Linked DNA regions of Homo sapiens: region 1 is linked to region 2. The links are contacts of gene promoters, found by promoter capture Hi-C in human tissues and cell types (Jung and others, 2019). All regions are on one chromosome and are shown on one strand. Each heading gives the region's core, a stretch centred on a gene start or on the middle of the fragment in contact. The rest is flanking DNA. Distances are from core to core; before and after follow the strand shown. Region 1 holds the start of LOC124901091 (a long non-coding RNA gene). Region 2 holds the start of EIF4EBP3 (eukaryotic translation initiation factor 4E binding protein 3).

What was found. Contacts are between HindIII fragments. The study calls those that stand out against the background at their distance.
Region 1: a contact is called between a fragment that was not itself captured here and the fragment with the promoter of EIF4EBP3 in region 2, in 1 of the 25 tissues and cell types used here (dorsolateral prefrontal cortex).

Annotation. Positions count from the first base shown.
Region 1 is chr5:141,513,616-141,520,008 of GRCh38, reverse strand. It overlaps DIAPH1 (diaphanous related formin 1), which reads left to right. Exons shown (of 28, transcript NM_005219.5): 28 at 3,001-4,988. The coding sequence ends at 3,158. LOC124901091 (a long non-coding RNA gene) reads right to left here and starts at 3,001. Exons shown (of 2, transcript XR_007058971.1): 1 at 2,361-3,001; 2 at 1-1,028. RefSeq lists enhancers at 2,720-3,345, 3,346-3,971, 4,598-5,223, 5,195-5,444, 5,224-5,849 and 2 more. The HindIII fragment of the contact is 3,163 bases long and covers 1-2,831 here.
Region 2 is chr5:140,542,667-140,549,443 of GRCh38, reverse strand. It overlaps EIF4EBP3 (eukaryotic translation initiation factor 4E binding protein 3), which reads right to left and starts at 1,782. Exons shown (of 3, transcript NM_003732.3): 1 at 1,604-1,782; 2 at 368-538; 3 at 1-210. The coding sequence starts at 1,706. The coding sequence ends at 182. It overlaps ANKHD1-EIF4EBP3 (ANKHD1-EIF4EBP3 readthrough), which reads right to left. Exons shown (of 36, transcript NM_020690.6): 35 at 368-538; 36 at 1-210. The coding sequence ends at 207. RefSeq lists enhancers at 712-1,419, 1,570-1,659, 1,420-2,126, 2,127-2,835. The HindIII fragment of the contact is 4,539 bases long and covers 840-5,378 here.

The DNA.
Region 1 (6,393 bases), core at 1-2,500, 970 kb before region 2:
CTAGCCCACCCCTAACTTCTAGGAATCTGTCCTCAGAGAGCATTCACCAGTATCTCAACATTGTTCCCTTTTCCCACACAGCCTGTGGGACTGTTCTCTTGTAGTCAAAATATTTATCTGGTTCTATGGCTACTTTTCAATAGTCTAATAACAAGTGAGTAAGTTGGGGGAAGCATGGGGAGGTCAGTTTTTCTTGACTGTTCAACCTGCTGAGCATAATGGTGAGTGAGTGGAAAGCTGGGAGACCTGTTCCAACAAGAGCTTTCTCATCCCCTGACCTTAGGCCAAATCACACCCTCCCTGGTGTATAGGCTTTCAAGGCTTAAAAGGGAAATTTTGATCTTCTCCCTACCTACTCTCTGCTCCTGGTTCTTATGAAGTTTGTAATACATCAGAAGCTTCTTGAGTCCAGAAAAGTCTAGAAACACCACTTGGTTAGGTACAACTGGTATCTTCTTATTTTGGAGGAAGAAACCACAGAAAGCAGCAGCTAAAGACCTACCACATGGGACCTCTGCCTTCTCCTGTGTTGCCCAGGACAAGTGGCCCAGTGTTCTTTTCCCAAGGTCTGGAGTCAGATGTTATTTCAACATATATATACCACTAGAGTTACACACACACACACACATGCACAGAGTCGCAGTGTCTTCTCAACTGTTGGAGACTGAATTCAAAGAAATAATAAAATGATAGGAAACTACTACCCTTCTGGATATGAGAAATGGGGTCTAGAGAGGGAGTACTTCAGAAGAGAGTGGAAATGTAGGAGGCCTGAGGAAGATTTTGGTGGTAAGGACAGTATGAGAAATGCACACATGTAGACCATCATAGTCACACTCACGTAGGCTCCTTTTCCTCACTTGTCTCAGTCACGGGGCATTAGTTTATGTTCATAATCCAATAAATGGTTTTGTGAAAATCCCACAGTCTCGGGCACATACCTATGATCTGTAACTAGATAAGTCCTGTGGCTGTCAGTCAGGGTCTTCACTATTCTTTCTCCTCTTGGTAGACAACCTCTTGTGCCCCTGGGAAGTAGAGGAGGAGGAGGAGACCTTTAAATTGGTAACCTGTGTGCATGCTGCGTGTTCCCTGCTTGATCTATGGGCAGCCTCTCCTGGGATGAAAACAGTAGCTCTGGGTCATGGCTCTGCAGGGAGAGAAGACCTGGTTAAGACTTGGGCTTTGGCAGGCTGTGGTGACTCATGCTTGTAATCCCAGAACTTTAGGTTCCAAGGTGGGAGGATTGCTTGAGCCCAGGAGTTCAAGACCAGCCTAGACAACATGGAGAGACCCCATCTCTGCAAAAAAATACAAAAATAGCCAGATATGGTGGCACATGCTTATAGTCCCAGCTACTAGGGAGGCTGAGGTGGGTGGATCACTTGAGCCTGGGAGGTTGAGGCTACGGTGAGCTGTGATTGCGCTGCTGCACTCCAGCCTGGGCGACTGAGATTCCATCAAAAAAAAAAAAAAAAAGACGGGCTATCTGATCCTGTTTGGCTTCTGCCTACCTAAAGCTTTTTGCTGGTCCAAAAAGGCGCTTCATTCCAGTCATGCAGCTGCCCCAGTCTTGGTCTTTATTTAGGAGTGCTCGGCTCTTTCATCTGGTCCTGCTTCTAAAACATTCCGGTACTGCTTTCTCCACTCCAGCTTTCCCAGATCTCCAGGAAGTCTTTTTTTTTTTTTTTTTTTTCCAATTGAGCTATCATTTACATACCTAAAATTCACCTTTTAAAAATGTATAATTCAGGGGTTTTAGAATATCCACAAGATTGTATAACCATTACTATCTAATTCCAGGACGTTTCATCATCCCCAGAAGAAAAACTTCATAATCCCCATTAGCAGTCACTACTGATTCTCCCCTCCCCTTGCCTCTGGCAACCACCAGTCTATTTTCTATCTCTGGGTTTGCCTGTGCTGGACATTTCGCAGAAGCTGACCCATAACATATGGCCTTTCGTGTCAGGCTTCTTTCGTCCCAGACAGCTGTTTGTGTATACACAGTTGCTCTGTGCTGTTCTGGGGCATGGGAGGAGGAAACATCATGAGATGGGCATGGTCTCAAGGAGTGGCCTTCCTGCTGCAGATACTGGGGCCATAAGCCTAGATACCATAAATGAATATGAGAGTCTTGGGGATGAAACCCAGCAGTTAGAACAGAAACTCGTGGATTGATTTGGTTCTTCTTTTCTAATCTGGTATGACAGCCGGAACTTGACCATCTCTTAGCCACCTGGGCTGAGATTTCTTGGTAGGGGTCCTCTCCTGTCCATCTTTATCCCAGTTCTGCTTCCCTGGCATAGTTTTTATTACTACCTCCCCCCCGCCATGCCACCCCCACATACTCTACACACCTTGTAGGGCCCTTGGCATTTGTATTACGGCTGCTACCTTTGAAGGGGTGGGAAAGAGCTAAGGCATGTGGGCATCTGTTGTTGGAGGAACACGTGGGAGTGCGGTGTCAGTGCGTGGCTGCTGTTCCTCTTTGCGGGAGTCTCTCCAGCCACTTACGGAAGGTTGCCTTCTGCTAGGGACAACCCTCCCAGGGCTGACTGAGAAGTGTTTTGGCCTAGGAGTTTCCTGGGACCTGTCAAGAAAACAAAAATAATACTATGTACTAAACTTTAGTCTATTTAATTCCAACATCCCTATTACGAGAAAATAGACTTTGAATACTTCATCTCTCCTTAAGTCACATAGCTAACACTTCAGCCCAGTTCTGTCTGTCTGTGTTCAAACTTTTGTGCTGTTTTCACACAGGGAAGCAAGGGGGCAAGGCTTGCTTTCCTGTTGCACCACACTCTCTTACATTCTTTGCCACCCAACAATATATTCCACATGCTGGATCTCTGCCCCTTTCTTCAAAGTAAGGGCCTCTGTGAAGTGGCCAAGGTAGTCATGTCTGCATGGCTTACGCTGATTATCTGCTGTAGAGTTTGAAAGAAATTAGAAATGAGGCCTTCCATAGACAGAATCTCTCGTCTTCTCTTGCAGCCAACAGGAAGGCCGGGTGTGCAGTCACATCTCTGCTAGCTTCGGAGCTGACCAAGGATGATGCCATGGCTGCTGTTCCTGCCAAGGTGTCCAAGAACAGTGAGACATTCCCCACAATCCTTGAGGAAGCCAAGGAGTTGGTTGGCCGTGCAAGCTAATGTGGGTCCTGTGACCGCGGCAGCTCCTCAGCGGAGCCGCAGACTGTCCTGCCCTGCAGCATGTGCCTAAAGGCTCAAGGGGATATTCCTCTGGGGTGGCCACTCCCACCACCCTGACCCTGTCTTTCTCTCTGGCCTGCTGCTCTCTCAACATCACATACAGCTTCAGCTGCCTGGAGGCCAGAAGGAAAGGGCAGTGCAGGGGAGGCCTGAGCCCGACTTAGCCAGCCCTGGCTGTTGTATTACCAAAGCAGGGTCCATGTTTGCTGCCTTAACCCTGTCTCCTCTCTGTTACTCAGAGGGCCTCATCTCAGACAAGGCCCAGCCTGCTTTTTCTCAGCCCTGACTTTCTAATGGGCTTTCCCCCCTAGGTCAGTCTTGCTGGATTTGTGCTTTTCTTTTGTGGTTTCTCTGGCCCTGAGAATAGCATGGGGCTTGTAAACCTTTGGGCTAGATCCCTCCTTTCATTGCTGTTGTCTCTGCTCTTCCCTCTCCTGGCTGTGGTTATTTATTATTAGTGGTGTGGCACTGGGAGCTGCTCCTAAGGAAGCAGGGAGCAAATCCCACCTTTACCCCACCTTCCTGGGAAAGGCCTCCAAAGCAAAGGATCTGGACCAGTTTCCCTGCTGTGCTGTGGCCCAGGCCAGAGCCTGTGGGCAGGCAGGCAGGGCATAGCGACAGTGTGGGACCTGCCCCCAGCTTCTGCCACGCTTTATGCCCTTGCCTCTCTGGACGCTCTGCACCAACCCCAGGCTACTGAGCCACCTTCCCTCCTCATGCCTTCCCTGAGCTTTGGTGCATCTCATCTGGACTATGGGTTGTACTGTGACCATCCCAACACCTCACCCTCTGTCTACAAGGAAATGGGAGGTGGAGCCTCCTGGCTGAGAAATTGTTTTGCAAATGGATCTATTTTTGTATGAAAAAAAAAATTTTTTTAAAGAAAACTGTTCCTTCCCCCTTTCCCCTCCATAATGTAAGAAGCTTTGGTGGCAGGTTACAGAGTTCTGGGATTTCTTCTCACAGGCCCAATCCTGAATGTGCCCCTGGACCTTCTGGACCCTTGAGTCCAAGGCAGATCCTCTCTCCCAGGGAATCCGACACAGGAGGAACCCCTTCTCTGGTTGAGCTGGGCCAGGCCTAAGAGTAGCAGGAACTCTAAGACCACAGAGTTTTTTATAAATGTATAAATGTATCAAGCCAAATGTGCAGATGCTAACTGGACATTCTGGGGAACTGGGCACCAGGAGTGCCTTCATACACTGTACCCCAGCTCTCTTCTAAAAGAGAAGTGGGTGGGCACACTGAACTGTTTGGTGGCCCCAACCACAGGAAGCTGCAATTCTCTGGCTTAGGGTGATACTTTTGCCCTCCTTGTGCCCCTCTCAGCTTTCCATCCCCAGCTAGGAAGAAAGAATGGCACTCTTGGGCTTGGCCCAGAATTAGAGTTATTAGAGCAAGAGAGAGCTTAGGAAGCATGAGGGCAACTATAGTGAGGCCTTATTGCCAGGAGGGAGGGTTTTGGTTGCTGGCGCTTGTGTATAAAGGGGCAAGAGCAGCTCCTTTGGACTATTCCTGGGAGGACTCTGATGCAGGGCGTCTGTTGCTCCCCTGGGTCACCTCCTCCCTGCTCGCTGACATCTGGGGCTTTGACCCTTTCTTTTTTAATCTACTTTTGCTAAGATGCATTTAATAAAAAAAAAGAGAGAGAGAGAGAGGTGTGAGGGACAAAATGCAAACCTATTTCCCTTGCCTCATAGGCTTCTGGGATGTCATCACCTCCAGTTTGTTGGTTTTGTTTCCAACTGTTAATAAAGCATTGAAACAGTACTGCCTTACAGCTTCCTGTGTGAATTTCTGAGCTGTTTTCTTTTCACTCTAGTCCAGGCTCCTCTAGTCTTTCCTGCCTCAAATCCCTGGTTGACCTGACAAATCACTGTGAAAAAGCTAAAGGTGCCAGACACTTTACTTGGGCACAGGGCTAGAGATGATTAATACATGGTGGCTGCTGCCCCACCAGAGCTCACCTCAGGGCCGTTTGGCCACAGTAAAGGAGTGGGCGCCTGGTTCAGCTCCCTGACTCTTCCACATTGCTGCTACTTGGTTTGGAGCCCTTTTTTGGAACTCACTTGGAACCTTTCATGTTCCCAGATGTCACGCAAGGTTTCCTGGCAGTACCTGTGTCTCTTGCTGAGGGAAGCATCTGGCTCCCATTTTCTCATCCCCTCTGCTCTGTTGGTGGCCACAGACCACATTCCAGAGTAGAGGGGTTTACCCTGGGGTGGAAACCTGAGCCTGCCCAGCAGAGGTTGGGAGCCTGAGGTCATGCTCCAGATGACTTGCCACTTGGAGCCATACTTGTCTGAGCACGTTATGACCTGCACAAAAAAGCCAGACCAGCAATGAGCAGGCCCAGGATAGACAGGGAGAGGCCTGGAGAGGACCACAAACCCATTCGGGCGGGCTCTGGAACTGGAAATAAAAGCCTTTTAAATAGCCCTGGAGCCTGGGCAGCTGCCTCCTCAGTATGGCCTGAGGTGTGGGGATGGGTTGCCTGCCGCCTCCCTCCCGTCCCCCCGGAGGCCACGCCTTTCTGGTTCAGAGCTTTATAGGCACACATACCAATTAGGGGACAAACCACAGCTGCTCACGCGCTCTGCCAGTCTGCTGCTGTGCCTGGAATAGAACCCAGGCGCCCGGCACCCCGCCCCTCCGCAGCCTGGCTCTGAGTAACAAAACCCTGCTTCCATCTCAGCAACCGTGCACACCACCCTTCCTCCCACGCTAGAAAGTCGCCCCCAGATTCTTAAGTTGGAAGGTTTGGTTCCCATGACAACAGACTTGAGCTGGCAGAATGGGTGACCTGGCTCTGGGAGCCTCCGCAGCGCGGAGGAAGCCGCATACCCTTGCTGACCAGCCAGATAACCGCAGTGGCTCTGTCTTTGTGTTCTTGGGTCCTTCCGGGTAGTTCCCCTTTTAAGTCCCCCTTCACCCCCAGCTCCGTGTTTTTCTGCAGCTTCTCTGGCTGCAGCAACCTCGGAATCCCACAGTGCTTCGAGGAGGCAGGCGGAGGGGGCGGGGAGATGGGAGAGCAGGCGAGTGAGTGGAAAAGCACCGACAGGAAGGAGGGAGGGGAGCTGAGTCTGCGATGGATCTCATTTCCTGCACGTCCTTTCAGTCCCCTTGACCCCCGCAAGAAGAGGATGAGCCCTCCAATTTCTTAGGCTTCGCTACG
Region 2 (6,777 bases), core at 533-3,032:
GTTGCCCACTCCTATCCCTGGTCTAGCTGCCTCAGAACTAAAGGAGGCCTGGAACTAACAAGTCACTCCCTTCCAGATTAGATGAGGCCAGCTGGCCTTTGGATGCCCCAGGAAGAGGTGGTGGCAGCAGTGGCATGAGGGATCCCTCTGTAACTCCACATGCCAGGTCATCTGCACTGGATTAGATGTCCATTTCAAATTGTGCGTCATCTGGAGAGAGAAAAGGCAGGAAGACAGGTTGCTGGTCTGAGGATCTGCAGGCTCAGCATCAGTGCAGAAACCCCTCTTGGAACTGAACCCCCGCACTGTGTCACAGTGGCATTTGAACTCAAAGGCTGGGACAATTCTTAATTCCTGCTTTCCTTACCGGGTATCTCTTCCTCTGTCTCCTGCTCCTTCAGCTCCTCCAGCTTGGAGAGAGGGGCTGTTGGAGGAGTTGTGACCCCGGGAATCTGAGGGAGGCAGCAGGGGGGTGTCCGGGCAATGGGTGAGTTCTTGCACTCCAGCAGGAACTTTCGGTCGTAGATGATCCTGGTGCCTGTCAAGGGGTTGGGACTGAGGTAAGAGTCAGGAGCTTGGGTACCGAGGTGACTGGGGTCCCAGACTCAGGCCTTTTGGGGCCTGGAGGTGAGGGTGGTGTCAAATTTCCCTGTGTATCAAAGGACATCGGCTCTGAAGCCCAGCTAGGTTCTCAGCAGACAAGCCTTCATAGTGCTTAAAATCTTCCAGACCTAACCAAGATGTGGGTATAAAGCAAGGGGGGCATCCCAGCTGGTATAGGCAGGGGCTTTATGTTTGGGAGAGCTTCAGATCTTGGCTCTAAGAGGAACACCAAACTTTGAGTTCAGGTACTTCATGCTGCTCCTCTACCACTCTGAAACCTCTGCTTTGGTCTCACCAGTGAAGGTGAGACCTAGACTAACAGCCTCAGGTGGTTCAAGAAGTGAAATAGCAGTTGTGAAGGGTTCCACCCAGTGCTGTTACCTGGGCTATCTCCTGCAGGGAGGAGAAACGTACTGTTCTAATCCTGACCCCTCCCAGGTCCTATAAGGTTCACACTAGCTCAGAGGAACTTGGCCCGCATAATGTCCTCAAAGGGTCCTGCCCTGTTCCTCCCCTCCGCTTCCGCGTGGCAGGAATCCCTGGGTCGGGAGCCCAGCAGCTCGTGATCCCAGGCTGCTCGCCCAACCAAACAGACGCCAGCCAGCAGCACAAAAACGGAGCAACTGCCCCAACTGTTCTAACTACTCCACTTCTCAAGACCCGGTGCTTCCGGCTGAGGTCACGCTCAGTAGGGGGCCCTGGCCCCTATTCCTAGGAAGCAAAGTCGCGAGGGGTAAGGAGCGTGTGTAAGGCTCCAAGAACCCAGGCCACAGTGAAGGATTACAGCCCAAACACCCGGAAGCTAGGCTCATGGCCTTGTTGCATCACTTAGAAGTTTTTGGGAACTGAGCTTCCGCTCCAAACATTCTCCCCCAAAGCTACAACCTGTAGAGGGGCCTGCGGACAAGTCTTAGGTCTGTCCCTCCCCTACCCCCGCCCCGCAACAACACGCACGCGCTAATATGTCCGCAGCCTGCGGACCCCTGCCCGGCCCGCTGACCTCCGGGGGTAGTGGCGTATAGCGTGCCCCCCGGCGTGGTGCTGTAGCAGTCGGGCAGCTGGTCCCGGCCCCCGGGAATCGGGCAGCTAGTGGACGTTGACATAGCGAGCGGGAGGAGCAGCAAAGTAACCGCCTGGCGTTGAGGTCGAGGAGCGCAGCTCTGAGTCTGAGGCGGACTCAGCCGACCACGTGCAGCTGCTGGCAACAACACTAGAACAACGTCACGCCCAGGGCGGGCCACCGGCCGTCACTCAACCCGACGGTCCCGCCCTATCTGCTAGGAAGCCAGCCCGGTTCAGAGAAAGCTGGAAATGCGTCCAAAGTCCCAGGCCCCACACCAGCTTCCAGTTCCTGCTGGCCCAGCGCTGGCCAACCTGCCTGAGTGCTGCAGCAGCTCAGCTATTTACTGTTTATAGCCGGGAGCTGGGGGCAGGTGAAGTAGGGCAAGCGTTTTTATCCTGTATTAGTTCACCCATTCCTTGCCAACTTTTGGATAGTAAAGCACTATGATTAGCCAAAGTCACACATCTTGCAGGAAGGGAAGCTGGGATTCAAATCTGACTGCATCTGATTCCAGGACTGTGCCCTTAAGCCCAGCTGTGTACTGCCTCCCATAAACAGTAACAGTACAAGGCCGGGTGCGGTGGCTCACGGCCTGTAATCCCAGCACTTTGGGAGGCTAAGGCGGGTGGATAGCTTGAGCCCAGGAGTCTGAGACCAGCCTGGGCAACATGGTGAAACCTAGACTCTACTAAAAATACAAAAATTAGCCGGGTGCGGCAGCATGCGCCTGTAGACCCAGCTACTCGGGAAGCTGAGGTGGAAGGATAGGTTGAACCCAGGAGGCGGAGGTTGCAGTGAGCGGAGATTGCACCACTGCACTCCAGCCTGGGTGACACATGCCTTGATGGCCTGGAGCACAGCAGGAAGGGGAAGGTCAGTGAGGGCTGGTCATCTTTCTGAAGAAGTGGTACCTGGACTAATAAAAGGATGAGTCAAGTTTGGGGGCTACAGCTGAGGCATCACCAGTCAGAAGGCCTGCCCTTTGATCTCTTTGCCAGTTAACTAAGGAGGGGCAGGGGGCTAGTGAGGAGGGCTTGGTCTTTAGAAGGAAAGAAAGGTCAGAGAGTTTGGCCTTGGAGTTTTTTTTTTGTTTTTTTTTTTTATGTAGACACAGTGATATGACAGGCTGGAGCAAGGTGGTGGGATTGGTGAAGATGTATATATGCTGGAAATCTTGAATTCATCAGGCTGTCCTGTTTGGCTTCCTCAAAATCAATACTGCCTCCACTGTCCCTTCCCCTCACCAAAAATTAAGTATAGACCACCTGACTGCATCCATTTATCAATATTAACTCAGCTCTGGCTTCATCAGATTTCTCCTTAGGTCTGATTTCTTCACTCATTTAAAAAAAGATTGCTTCTCAAACTATTTATTTTCTGAGATAGGGTTTTGCTCTGCTGCCTAGGCTGGAATGCAGTGGTGTAATCTCAGCTCAATGCAAACTCTGCCTCCTGGGTTCAGGCCATCCTCCCACCTCAGCCTCCTGAGTAGCTGGGACCACAGGTGCCCACCACCACACCGGGCTAATTTTTGGATTTTTTATAGAGACAAGGTTTCACCATGTTGCCCAGGCTGGTCTCGAATTCCTGAGCTCAAGTAACCTATCTGCCTCGGCCTCCCAAAGTGCTGGTGTGAGCCACCACACCTGGCCAGCTTCTCAAACTTTAATGTGCATATAAATCATCTGGAGATATTGTTAAAATGATAATTCTGATACAGTATTGGTCTGGGTGAGATTTTGGATTTTTTTTTTTTTTTGACACAGGGTCTCACTGTCACCCAAGCTGGAGTGTAGTGGTACAATCATGGCTCACTGCAGCCTCAACCTCCTGGGCTCAGGTGACCCTCCCACTTCAGTGTCCTCAATAGCTGGGACCACAGGTGCATGCCACTGTACCTGGCTAATTTTTAAATTTTTTGTAAAGGCGGGGTCTCACTATGTTGCCCAGGCTGGTCTCAAACTTGTGGGCCCAAGCGATCCTCCCAAACAGGCATCCTCCGAAACAAGAATTACAGGCATGAGCCACCGTGCCCAGCCAGTTGTGGATTTTTTTTTTTTTTTTTTGAGATGGAGTTTCGCTCTTGCCGCCCAAATGGCATGATCTTGGCTCACCGCAACCTCCGATTCCCGGGTTTAAGCGATTCTCCTGCCTCAGCCTCCTGAGTAGTTGGGATTACAGGCATGTACCACCACACCCAGCTAATTTTGTAATTTTAGTAGAAACAGAGTTTCTCCATGTTGGTCAGGCTGGTCTTGAACTCCCGACCTCAGGTGATCAGCCTGCCTCGGCCTCCCAAAGTGCTACGATTACAGGCATAAGCCACCACACCTGGCTGGTTTTTTTTTTTTTTTAAGATGGAGTCTTGCTCTGTCACCCAGGCTAGAGTTCAGTGGCATGATCTCAGCTCACTGCAACCTCTGCCTCCTGGGTTCAAGCGATTCTCCTGCCTCAGCCTCCTGAGTAGCTGGAATTACAGGAACCCACCACCGCACCGGGCTAATTTTTTGTATTTTTAGCAGACATCAGGTTTCACTATCTTGGCCAAGCTGGTCTCGAACTCCTGATCTCCAGTGATCTGCCTGGCTTGGCCTCCCAAAGTGCTGGAGTTACAGGCATGAGCCACCGGGCCTGACTGCAACTGTGAGTTTTTAATACAGTAATGCAAACGCTTCAGGGCCTCAGAAACACACTTCAGGTATCAAGGGTATGTATATTTTATTGTCCCGAAAAGGATTTTGAGTATCTTACAAAATGGTGCATGCCAAAATGAAGTGTCTTAGCAGTGCTGGAGGGTAAAGCTTGGGAACAGATTGTAGTGAATCATTTATGATAACTAACCTTTTATGCAACGTGAGGAAGTGTCTGACAGGGGGAATGGGAGAATAGGGTGGAGGATGGTGAGATTTGAGGGTAGAGTCCAGTCTAGTGAAACCAGGTGGGCAAACGGGCGATGGCTGTGAGGATGGAGAGAAGTGGATGAGATTCAGATACACAGAGGAAGAATAAAGTGACTGATTAAGAGTGGGGTGAGGGAAAGTGTAAACTAGGATAATTTTCAGTCTTTTGGCTTGAGAGTCTTGGTGGCTAGTAGCACCAACTAATATGATAGGGAAAACAAGAAGAGCAGCATATCTTATATGAGGGAATGAATAATATGTGTTCAGATGGAGCACAGGAGGAAGCTAGATATAGTGAAGCCATGGGGAGAACTCTGAGTTAGTGGCTCAAATTTGGGTGGTGTGAAATTCAAGAGTGTGGGGATGGGCTAGGATCGGTAGCTCACATCTGTTAATTCTGGCATTTTGGGAGGCTGAGGTGGGAGGACCGCTTGAGCCCAGGAGCTCAAGACCTGGGCAATACAGCAAGACCCTATCTCTATTTATAAATAAATAAATGTGGGATGAGATCATCTGGGGAGAAGATACAGTGTAGAAGCCTGGGCACATCAACATTTATTTATTTAAAAGATAGTAGAGAAAAAGAATTCACCAAAAGAGACTGAGAAAGATGAGTCGGAAATAGGAAAATCAGGAGAAAAGTATCAAAAGTTTTCAAGAACGGTCATTGTCGAAGTGAGGTCTTCCTTCTACTAATCTCTACCACAAAATAATAGCCACAGTTACTACTACTATAATGACTACTGCTTGCAGCTAACTCTTCTGGAGTCACTGTGTGCTGTAAGGGCTGGGGAATAGGTAATTGGCTTTAGAGAGAAAGCCAGATTCATCATCCATGCAATCTGGATGAAGAAACAAGAATTTAAATCAGAGGGTCAATACTAATTACTGGCTGGGCAAGGCGGTTCACGCCTGTAATCCCAGCACTCTGGGAGGCTGAGGCGGGCAAATCACTTGAGGTCAGGAGTTCAAGACCAGCCTGGCAAACATGGAGAAACCCCATCTCTACTAAAAATACAAAAATTAGCCAAGTGTGGTGGTGTGCACCTGTAATCCCAGCTACTTGGGAGGCTGAGGCAGGAGAATTGCTTGAACTCAGGAGGCGGAGGTTGCAGTGAGCCAACATGGCGCCACTGCACTCCAGCCTAAGCAACAGAGTGAGACTCTGTCTCATTAAAAAACAAAAAACAAAAAACAACTAATTACCTATTAGAATATGGAAGTGTTTAAAAAAAATACCTATGCCCAGGCCCCACCCCCAGAGATCTGATTAAGCCTATAAGGAAATACCAGGTCTCTGTTATCAGGCAAATTACTTTGGATTCACATTAATATACCATCAAGATAAAACAGAATGTGAAAAGTAATCACAAAATAGGTTTGCAAACAAGATCGTCTGATTCATGATCTTTTCCAAATTAGGTGTTGAAGCCCAGGGTCATGCCTTTTATTGGAGGTGGTCTTAACACACTTAAGTTTTTGATGCTTAAAACCACCTTTCTCTCACCCATTGCCTAAAGGAGAGGATGGAGGCGCATGAACCTGCCTGTTTGCAAATGACAAATCACTGAGGATAAATAGAAAATGCAGCATTACCAGAGCCCCTCACTATAGGGGGCAGGGTCCACTGGGAAGACATCATAACCAGTTGTATGTCTTGGTAGAAATACTTCTTGCTAGTCAGAGAACAAGATGTTCATTCAGAAGCTGTTTTCCTACAAGCTTGCTTGCCTTTTCTTGGATTTACAATGTGGTCCAAAGGTCTTTTTTTTTTTTTTTTTTGAGACGAAGTCTCGTTCTTGTCACCCAGGCTGGAGTGCAATGGCATGATCTCAGCTCACTGCAACCTCCGCCTCCTGGGTTCAGGCGATTCTCCTGCCTCAGCCTTCTGAGTAGCTGGGATTACAGGTGCATGCCACCACGCCCGGCTAATTTTTGTATTTTTAGTAGAGACGGGGTTTCACCATGTTGCCCAGACTGGTCTCGAACTCCTGACCTCAGGTGATCCACCCGCTTCAGCCTCCCAAAGTGCTGGGATTACAGGCATGAGCCACCGCACCCGGCCCCAAAGGTCTTAAACAGTGGGAAGGAACCACATATACTAAGTACTCCTCTCTCTGGCTTGAAATTATAATGTAGCCAGCCTTTCCCTTTCTTTTCTTTTCTTTTCTTTTTTTTTTTTTTGAGAGAGAGTCTTGCTCTGTTGCCCAG